Regions from separate parts of the Homo sapiens genome. Here region 1 is linked to region 2. Evidence: promoter capture Hi-C in human tissues and cell types (Jung and others, 2019). All regions are on one chromosome and are shown on one strand. Each heading gives the region's core, a stretch centred on a gene start or on the middle of the fragment in contact. The rest is flanking DNA. Distances are from core to core; before and after follow the strand shown.

The links. Contacts are between HindIII fragments. The study calls those that stand out against the background at their distance.
Region 1: a fragment that was not itself captured here is called in contact with the fragment with the promoter of FBXL14 in region 2 in 1 of the 25 tissues and cell types used here (dorsolateral prefrontal cortex).

Annotation. Positions count from the first base shown.
Region 1 is chr12:1,074,553-1,079,814 of GRCh38, reverse strand. All of the region lies in intron 2 of ERC1 (ELKS/RAB6-interacting/CAST family member 1), which reads right to left. Among named protein-coding and RNA genes, the nearest start is that of ERC1, 86 kb to the right of the region's middle. The HindIII fragment of the contact is 5,096 bases long and covers 631-5,262 here.
Region 2 is chr12:1,592,810-1,597,460 of GRCh38, reverse strand. It overlaps FBXL14 (F-box and leucine rich repeat protein 14), which reads left to right and starts at 2,880. Exons shown (of 2, transcript NM_152441.3): 1 at 2,880-4,588. The coding sequence starts at 3,395. RefSeq lists enhancers at 2,176-2,245, 3,616-3,805, 4,323-4,651 and silencers at 2,506-3,375, 4,356-4,405. The HindIII fragment of the contact is 15,118 bases long and covers 1-4,651 here.

The sequences.
Region 1 (5,262 bases), core at 1,929-4,428, 520 kb after region 2:
TGTATATCGACTTTTGTCATATTACAAATCATTTCTATCTGTATCTCTGTATATCGACTTTTGTCATATTACAAATCATTTCTGTCTATATCTCTGTATATCGACTTTTGTCATATTACAAATCATTTCTATCTGTATCTCTGTATATCGACTTTTGTCATATTACAAATCATTTCTATCTGTATCTCTGTATATCGACTTTTGTCATATTACAAATCATTTCTATCTGTATCTCTGTATATCGACTTTTGTCATATTACAAATCATTTCTATCTGTATCTCTGTATATCGACTTTTGTCATATTACAAATCATTTCTATCTGTATCTCTGTATATCGACTTTTGTCATATTACAAATCATTTCTATCTGTATCTCTGTATATCGACTTTTGTCATATTACAAATCATTTCTATCTGTATCTCTGTATATCGACTTTTGTCATATTACAAATCATTTCTATCTGTATCTCTGTATATCGACTTTTGTCATATTACAAATCATTTCTATCTGTATCTCTGTATATCGACTTGTCGTATTACAAATCATTTCTATCTGTATCTCTGTATATCGACTTTTGTCTTATTACAAATCATTTCTATCTGTATCTCTGTATATCGACTTTTGTCATATTACAAATCATTTCTATCTGTATCTCTGTATATCGACTTGTCATATTACAAATCATTTCTATATGTATCTCTGTATATCGACTTTTGTCATATTACAAATCATTTCTATATGTATCTCTGTATATCGACTTTTGTCATATTACAAATCATTTCTATCTGTATCTCTGTATATCGACTTGTCATATTACAAATCATTTCTATCTGTATCTTTGTATATTGACTTTTGTCATATTACAAATCATTTCTATCTGTATCTTTGTATATCGACTTTTATCATATTACAAATCATTTCTATCTGTATCTTTGTATATCGACTTTTGTCATATTACAAATCATTTCTATATGTATCTTTGTATATCGACTTTTGTCATATTACAAATCATTTCTATCTGTGTCTTTGTATATCAACTTTTGTGACTCCTCTCTCCTTGTTCTTTGCCCATTTTGTTATTGAACATTTTTTCTTAATCCATTTTAAGAGCTCTTCATATTAGGAAAATAACCTTTCACCTGCTGTGTATGTTACAAATATTTTTCCAAGTCTGCCATTTTTCTTTTAACATTGTTTATGATGACTTTTAATAGATATTTTCTTTTTTAATACAAAGACAATGACATTTTCCTTTATCATTTCCGGTTTGGGTATTATGCTTTTAGCAAGCAGTGAGCTTTCAATTCTGGTAGTCTTCAAACACTTGAAAAGCACTGCTATTTCTTTCGAAGAATAAACTCACCAAAAAAAAAAAAATCAGGAATTTAAATTCATGAATATAAATTTTAAAATGCATTTCACTACCAGCATCATCTTTTAAAGATTAACAGTTGCTGGAGTTCAAAAGACCTTCAATAAAAAGATGTATCAAAATGCTAATTCTCTGAAGCCTAGTTTCTTTCCCTTGGAAGTCAAAAAAAATCCTGACACTCCTGAGTGAATATATCCCAAAGGGAAATACCAGAAGTGAAATTCAACAGGGAAGCTGATTTCTAGGTATGACTGTTCCTCCTTTTCTGACCATTCGTCATCAATTCATTCAAGTCAGGAGAAATATATGTTGGCTACAGTTAACAGTTTCACATACGCTTTGGCACATATGGCTAAATGTAGCATGGCAATTACTATTTTGGTAAAGAAAGAAAACATTAACTACTAGTGTGTCTGGTTCTTCAGCTCCGCCTGCACCCATTTTACTATAGTATAAAAATAAAACAATGCTCTGACTTGGTAGCCTAGAAGTCTATACAGCAGTTTTCTCCACTAAAATATAAACCAACATTTCCTCTTTTGGCTACAATCAGGCTAGCTTTATTTTATAAAAATTCCTGCCAACTCCTTTAGAAGAAGGAAAAAAGCAGACTACAAGCAAGGCTACTCTTTCTCCAGCATATTCATACAGAAGATAAAATGGGCATATTCACACATCACAGACATCTATAATGATCAACCAAAAACAGATACATTGAGTTTAAGGAAAGATCGAGTTGTAAGATAATACTAGAATGTCTATTTGGGAAGTCTGTTCCCGACACACTGCAAAATGATCTCACACTCCAAATTTTATAGCAACACTCACTAGTCTACTTCTCACTCTAACACTCAGCTTGATTTTGAAAGGCTGGGAAAGTATTTGTCTAAAATTTACTCCAGGGACTGTACTATTATTACACCAAGCTATATCTCAATGAAATGGTAGGATATTGTGAACAACAATAATGAAAATTCTTAACTATCTGACAGGGCCTATGACTTTTATTACAACAATTAGATATCTGCAAAAACAATGACAGATCACAACTACTATTCATATATTTTAGATAAATATCAGAAGCTCTTCTGAGGCAGAACTTCCAACAAATAAACTGTCATTAGTTTCTTAGAACAAGAGTACACTTTGATCCCGTTTATTCTCATTCCTAAAATAACAGAACTATGTAGTCTAGAGATATTTTTAGAGAAAAAAAATTATGGACACGTGAAATGGTCATGATTACAAACAAAATATATCACAGAGAACTCAGTACACTGTTTATCAAGAAGATCAGAGTCAGAGAAAACACCAGTATTGTACCCTTTTACAAATGTTAAATTAAGAACATTTTTTTCTGAAACATATAAATACATGTATTAAATAAACTTTATTAATGTAACACGCAAAAGAGTTTTAAAGAATTCTTAAGTCAACCAAGTCAAGCTTCCGGTTTGGTTGGGCTATCTGATGTTCCCGTCTGTGCTGCCCAGGGCTGTATGCTTATCCACAGAATAGCACTTCTAAGACTGATCTGCAATTTAATTCTTTGTATTTATCATCAATAAACTTTCTAGGACTTAGGAATGTCATCTTTTTACCCTGTCATAAATTTTTTATGAAAAACTGACAAAAATTAAATGTTGAGAAATTATGTTGAAAGTAAATGGCTACTGTATATTAGCCGCATTGCAAGTATCTGGGAAGTTATACCTCTTCCTTAAAAAAATAATGCAGCCAATTACTCTTATTCTAAAAAAATCACTCATGCCTATAATCCCAGCACTTTGGGAAGCCAAGGCAGGCGGATCACAAGGTCAGGAGTTCAAGATCAGCCTGACCACCATGGTGAAACCCCGTTTCTACCAAAAATACAGGAATTAGCCAGGCATGGTGGTGCGCGCCTGTAAACCCAGCTACTCAGGGGGCTGAGGCAGGAGAATTGCTAGAACCGGGGAGGCAGAGGTTGCAGTGAGCTGAGATCCTGCCACTGCACTCCAGCCTGGGCGACAGAGTGAGACTCCATCTCCAAAAAAAAAAAAAAGAAAAAGAAAAAAAAAATCAGTTCTACACCAACCAATACAAGTAATTCTTAAATCCCAACTGGCCAAAATACAAACCACAGTCCTAATAAAAATGTTAATTATATGCTCTAGGTTTATTCAATATTTGACCTGAAGCAAAAAGAAGCATTTTCAGATAATCAACAGTCAACAAGAATCTTTCATAGTTGTACTATACGAAGCACAGCAAAAGTACAGGATAAAGTTCTTATCCAAAAATAAAGCTCACAAATGGGTAAAACATAAGAGTTATAACCTATTACAAATTTTAAATTAACAACAATATTCAAGAAAGACAAAAGGAACACAGATAAAGCATTTATTTTACATGCAATATATTCAAATGAAGCTTAGAACCTATAAGATCACTATGAGCTAAACTCATAAAACTTTAATATATCTCTATGAAAACAAAGTACAGTTGACCCTTGTACCACACAGGTTTGAACTTTGAGGGTCTGCTGACACATGGATTTTCTTCTGCCTCTGCCAAATCTGAGACAGCAATACCAATCCCTTTTCTTCTTCCTCTTCCTCAGCCTACTCAAAACAAAAATGATGAGGATGAAGATCTTCGTGATGGTCCACTTCTACTTAATGAATAGTAAGTGTATTTTCTCTTCCTTGTGATTTTCTTTTTTTTTCTTTTCCCCCGAGACAGTCTTGCTCTGTTTCCAAGAGATGGAGTGCAATGGAGTGCACTTTTGTTGCCCAGGCTGGAGTGCAATGGCACAATCTCAGCTCACTGCAACCTCCGCCTCCCAGGTTCAAACGATTCTCCTGCCTCTGCCTCCAGAGTAGCAGGGATTACAGGTGAGCACCACCACGCCTGGCTAATGTTTGTATTTTTAGTAGAGACGGGGTTTCACCATATTGGCCGGGATGGTCTTGATCTCTTAACCGTGTGATCCACCAGCCTCGGCCTCCCAAAGAGCTGGGATTACAGGCATGAGGCACCACACCCAGACAATTTTCTTAATAACATTTTCTTTTCTCTAGCTTGCTTTAAAGAATGCAGTATATACATAAAATACATGTTAACATATAACATACAAAATATGTGTTAATCAACTATGTTATCAGGCCCCTGGTCAACAGTAGGCTATTAATAGTTAAATTTGGGGGGTGTCAAAACTTATACACAGATATAACCCCACTTTGTACAAACGTCAACTGAATTCTAATTTCCATAATTTTAAAAGAAGAAACATTTTAAAAGAAGAAACTAATTTAATGAGTCTGAACCACAGAGAATGAGACAGGGGAAGAGCCTCCAAGGTAATTTACTCCTCCTTATTGTTAGTTTAGTATTCTTTGAGTTAATGACAGAGATTTATTTCCTGTACAGCAAAGCACACTGAAAGCCCTCAAATATTAAACCAAATCAAAGTTTTCAGACTAATCTAAACACAAGCAGGAGACTCACCAAAATGCAAAAAAGACCCGCACTAGAACTCAAAGGGATGGATTAAATTGTTTAACATTCTCACCCATTATTTGGAGCTTACTAACCAAAGTTATTTTCCTCTAAAAAAAGATGTCAGAGTCAAGAAAATGAATGAGCAATTACACTAGAATTCTAACAACTACTCTCTGCCTCTGAATCCAGGAAAAATAAGATCATCTATCTTTTTGCTCTGCGAATGCTGTACATAAATCTAAGTAGCAAGATAATGGCTGGAAAACATCAAAATTTGGACAACAGGTTTATTTCAGCAATAAACATAATCCATCTTTATGCTACCACAACCCAGAATAGAAGTTAAAGAATAAATGAAAATGTGGTCGGGTGCAGTGGCTCATGCCTGTAATCCCAGCACTCTGGG
Region 2 (4,651 bases), core at 1,631-4,130:
CTTCCCCTTCTGAAGGAGAAAGTATGAATCCTTAGGTAAGCCTGATCTTTGGGTTGGGCCTCTCAATTTTCCCACCCTACCCAGGTGAAAAGCACATTCCATCTGAAAAATCTAGAATTAAAAAAAAAATTCTTTGTAAGGCTTTGGAGAGACTCCCTACACAAGGCTATCATTTCTGCTTTTAAATAGGCTAGTTAAAAAACTTATGGTTGCAACTTGTTAAATCATATACAAAAATCTCAACCAGTTTTAAAAATATGAAGAGCAAGCCACAGGATTTTCTACATTGGTATACATCTTTGCCAGACAATCAGAGTCTCCTGTCTATACATATTCTTCATATATTTTTGTGTCCTAAGTCTGAGCATAAACCAAAGCTCCCAGGAAGTTATTGTATTCGAAGTTATTCTTAATATCTGGAGCCTGCATTAGGAACAATGTGTAATTGTTCCATGGGTTAAGGAGACAGTATGCTAGGCTCTTGGCCTCAGAGTGTTCCTACTGGAAAGGTCCCTGAAGATTACCTAGTCAAATCATCCTGGTGTTACACAAGGAAACCGAGACCCAGAAAGGAGAGTCGTTTCCTCAGTAGCATAAAGTCACCAGGTGTTCAGATTCGGCATAGGGCTCATTCTACGCCCTAGTTCCTTTTCCCCGGGAATGCTTTTTCTGTGATGCTTCTTGATGCTATATTTTCCTATTTATTGAAGGTGAAAATAGTCATATTGCTGAAAATCCTTATAATATATACTTGAGTGCCTTAAATAAAAGGCTTTGTGTTAATAAGATTCTAGAATTCAAGAAAAACTGTTGTTAGAACGAGGACCAGATGGCCAACTTCTAGAGAAAGTGCTTCCAGATACCTCTGAATGACTCTTCAGATTTGAGAACAAGGGCCTTTCTAGAGAAGGAAAACCATTAGGCTCCTTCTTAGTCCGAGGCTGGTCAGGCCCCTTGTCTAAAATTCCCCCCAAATGTGTGGGGTACTTTGTTTTTTATTAAGCAGGATTAAGTTACACTAAGGTGCTTTGGATTAAGGCCTTGACATCAACCCAAACACATCTAGGTGCACAGAACAATCAAAAAGTGACTTTTGCGCAGAATTTAAGGTAAACGTTTAGGCAGAAGTGACTGAGAAGAATAAAAGCCTAGATAACCTCCAGGAGAAGAGTGAAGCCCAGGCATACCCCAGAATCGTGACACTTACTGCCACCGTACATCTGGATGTACTGGATGACTAACAGTACAGTCTATTTTTTCAAGAAGGTTATAAAAATCTATGGGCTCCACACTGCGTGTAATGTGGGTGAGGTAACAAGCTGGCGAGAATTTTTGCTTCTGCATTTCCTGATTTAGGAAAGAGGAGTGGTAGGGGTGTAAAAGGTGTATTATGCCTATTACTGAATCTGTATGTATTTGGTCTAATAGTGGTTGCTTGGGCAAAAGTTACTCTCCTACACTGAATATGGAACCCCTTCCAAATCTTGTTCAGGTCCTCAAAGAATCAATGAAACCATTTTCCCTTTCTGATAAATCCGCTGGTCTTGTATCTAGTTGTGTGGATCCATAAATTAAAATACAGAGGATCATTTTCTCTGATCCAAAAATTCTTGGTTTGGGGGTAGTTAAAATGAAACTTCTGAAATTCTATCCTTAGTACGGACATTTAGGACCCAGGGGCTACATCCTAGAATGGAATTGTGCCCTGCTTCCATAAAACGGTTGATAAACCAACAGACACGACTGGATTGTCTTAAACCAAGTTCAACTGTCATTCCATTTTAATCAAAAAGTAAATTGGATTCAGCATATACGAATATATTGACTATCAGTACAACTGAGCCATACAACTGATAGTCTAAGGCTGATGACAAGGAGAAAGCTCCTAAAACAAGGCTTAGGGGAAGGCTGTTCCCCTGTAAGCAAAGCGGACTGAGGGCATTGGTGGCGCAGCAGCGTTCAGAAGTAGAGGGAAGTTTTGATGTATCAAGTACCGAGGGAAACACACACAGCGTGTCTGGAAACCATCAGAAGATGCTAGAAGGAAGTAGTCATGGATAATTCTAGAAATTTCTAGAACACCGACTGGAGGGGGTCATTGTTTAAGATGAGTACAGCCGAGTTTCTCTCCAATTTAAGACACAAGACTGGAGAGAAAGGCGTCGTAGTAAACAGCCCCAACCGGGGGAGCAGGGGGTGTGATAATGAGGCGTTAAGGGGCATTAGGGACAGTAAGAAAAGGAGAGTTGGGGTGACGATTATTGAGCACTGCTATAGGAGGCGGCTCTCGCAGGGATAATCAAGGGAGAGGGGTGTGAAATAAGGGTAACGAATTGCAGGGGTAAACTGTGGGAAGGGGCTGCGCAGACTTCAACAGCAAAGAAAAAGAAGGAACGGGGCTGGGGCGTGGCCCAGAGAGGGAACGGCTCAATAACGGGCTACCGGGTGAAAAGAAGCCGGGTGGGGAGGCGCTCTGCTGACAGCTGCCGCTCCCCCGTGGCGCCCACAGGGTTAAAAATCAGGGGCCACGGGACCAGGCCGAACTCGGTTTCCAGGGCAACGGCTCCACAGTTCCGGCAGCGCAGGCCCGTACCATTGCGCGGGCGCGGGGGAGCGGGAGCGGCGGAGGGGACGCGCTGCAGGGCGGCGGAGCCGGGGCCGGCCCGGGCGCTACCAAACGCACGGCCCGCCTGCTCGCCCGGGGTCTGCGCCGAGCCGCGCTCCGGCCGGACGGCCGCGGCGTCCTTGGTGCGGGGGCCGGCAGCTCCCAAGTGGCCGCGGACGGCGGGGGAGAAGGAACGCACGCCGCCGGCCGGGATTGGCCTCCTGGTCCCCCCGCCTGGGCGGCGGAGTGCGGGCGGCCCGGGGCTGGGAGGTTTGAAAAGCGGGCGAGAGACAAAGGCAGCAGGAAGCCTCCTCCGCGCCCGGAGCCCGTGCGCCCGGCCCCCGGGGCCCCCTCGCCGCCCGCCGGCCCGCGGAGCAGCGGCGGCGGCAGGAGGCGGAGGATGCGGCAGGGGGCGTGGGCGCGGCGGCGCGGGCGGAGCGGCGCGGCCCGGGCGCGGCGTGGGTAGAGCCGAGGCGGCGGCGGCGGCCGGCCTCCGGGAGCGAGAGCGAGGCGCCTTCCCCGCCCGGGATGTGAGCGCCGTGCGGAGCCCGGGGCGGGGGAGGGCCGGGCCGGAGGCGCAGCCGGCAGGAAGGAAGGACGGACGGACCAGGAGGAGGAGCGGCGGCGGCGGCCGGAGCCGGAAGGCGGGGAGGGGCCGGCCGTTGGGCCCGAGGCGGCGGCGGCGGCGGCGGCGGCGGCTGGGGAGAAGCGCTCTCGTCGCCTGCCCGAGGCCGGAGCGGCGGGGCCCGCGCCTCCTCCCCCCAGCGCCGCGGAGGGGGGAGGAGGAAGATGGAGACCCACATCTCATGCCTGTTCCCGGAGCTGCTGGCCATGATCTTCGGCTACCTGGACGTCCGGGACAAGGGGCGCGCGGCGCAGGTGTGCACCGCCTGGCGGGACGCCGCCTACCACAAGTCGGTGTGGCGGGGGGTGGAGGCCAAGCTGCACCTGCGCCGGGCCAACCCGTCGCTGTTCCCCAGCCTGCAGGCCCGGGGCATCCGCCGGGTGCAGATCCTGAGCCTCCGCCGCAGCCTCAGCTACGTGATCCAGGGCATGGCCAACATCGAGAGCCTCAACCTCAGCGGCTGCTACAACCTCACCGACAACGGGCTGGGCCACGCGTTTGTGCAGGAGATCGGCTCCCTGCGCGCTCTCAACCTGAGCCTCTGCAAGCAGATCACTGACAGCAGCCTGGGCCGCATAGCCCAGTACCTCAAGGGCCTGGAGGTGCTGGAGCTGGGAGGTTGCAGCAACATCACCAACACTGGCCTTCTGCTCATCGCCTGGGGTCTGCAGCGCCTCAAGAGCCTTAACCTCCGCAGCTGCCGCCACCTTTCGGATGTGGGCATCGGGCACCTGGCCGGCATGACGCGCAGCGCGGCGGAGGGCTGCCTGGGCCTGGAGCAGCTCACGCTACAGGACTGCCAGAAGCTCACAGATCTTTCTCTAAAGCACATCTCCCGAGGGCTGACGGGCCTGAGGCTCCTCAACCTCAGCTTCTGTGGGGGAATCTCGGACGCTGGCCTCCTGCACCTGTCGCACATGGGCAGCCTGCGCAGCCTCAACCTGCGCTCCTGTGACAACATCAGTGACACGGGCATCATGCATCTGGCCATGGGCAGCCTGCGCCTCTCGGGGCTGGATGTTTCGTTCTGTGACAAGGTGGGAGACCAGAGTCTGGCTTACATAGCCCAGGGGCTGGATGGCCTCAAGTCTCTCTCCCTCTGCTCCTGCCACATCAGTGATGATGGCATCAACCGCATGGTGCGGCAGATGCACGGGCTGCGCACGCTCAACATTGGACAGTGTGTGCGCATCACGGACAAGGGCCTGGAGCTGATCGCTGAGCACCTGAGCCAACTCACCGGCATAGACCTGTACGGCTGCACCCGAATCACCAAGCGCGGCCTGGAGCGCATCACGCAGCTGCCGTGCCTCAAGGTACTCAACCTGGGACTCTGGCAGATGACGGACAGTGAGAAGGTCAGGTGAGGGCGGCAGCACCAGCTCCCCTTGTCCCGCCCTGTTCATCCTCCCATTACCACC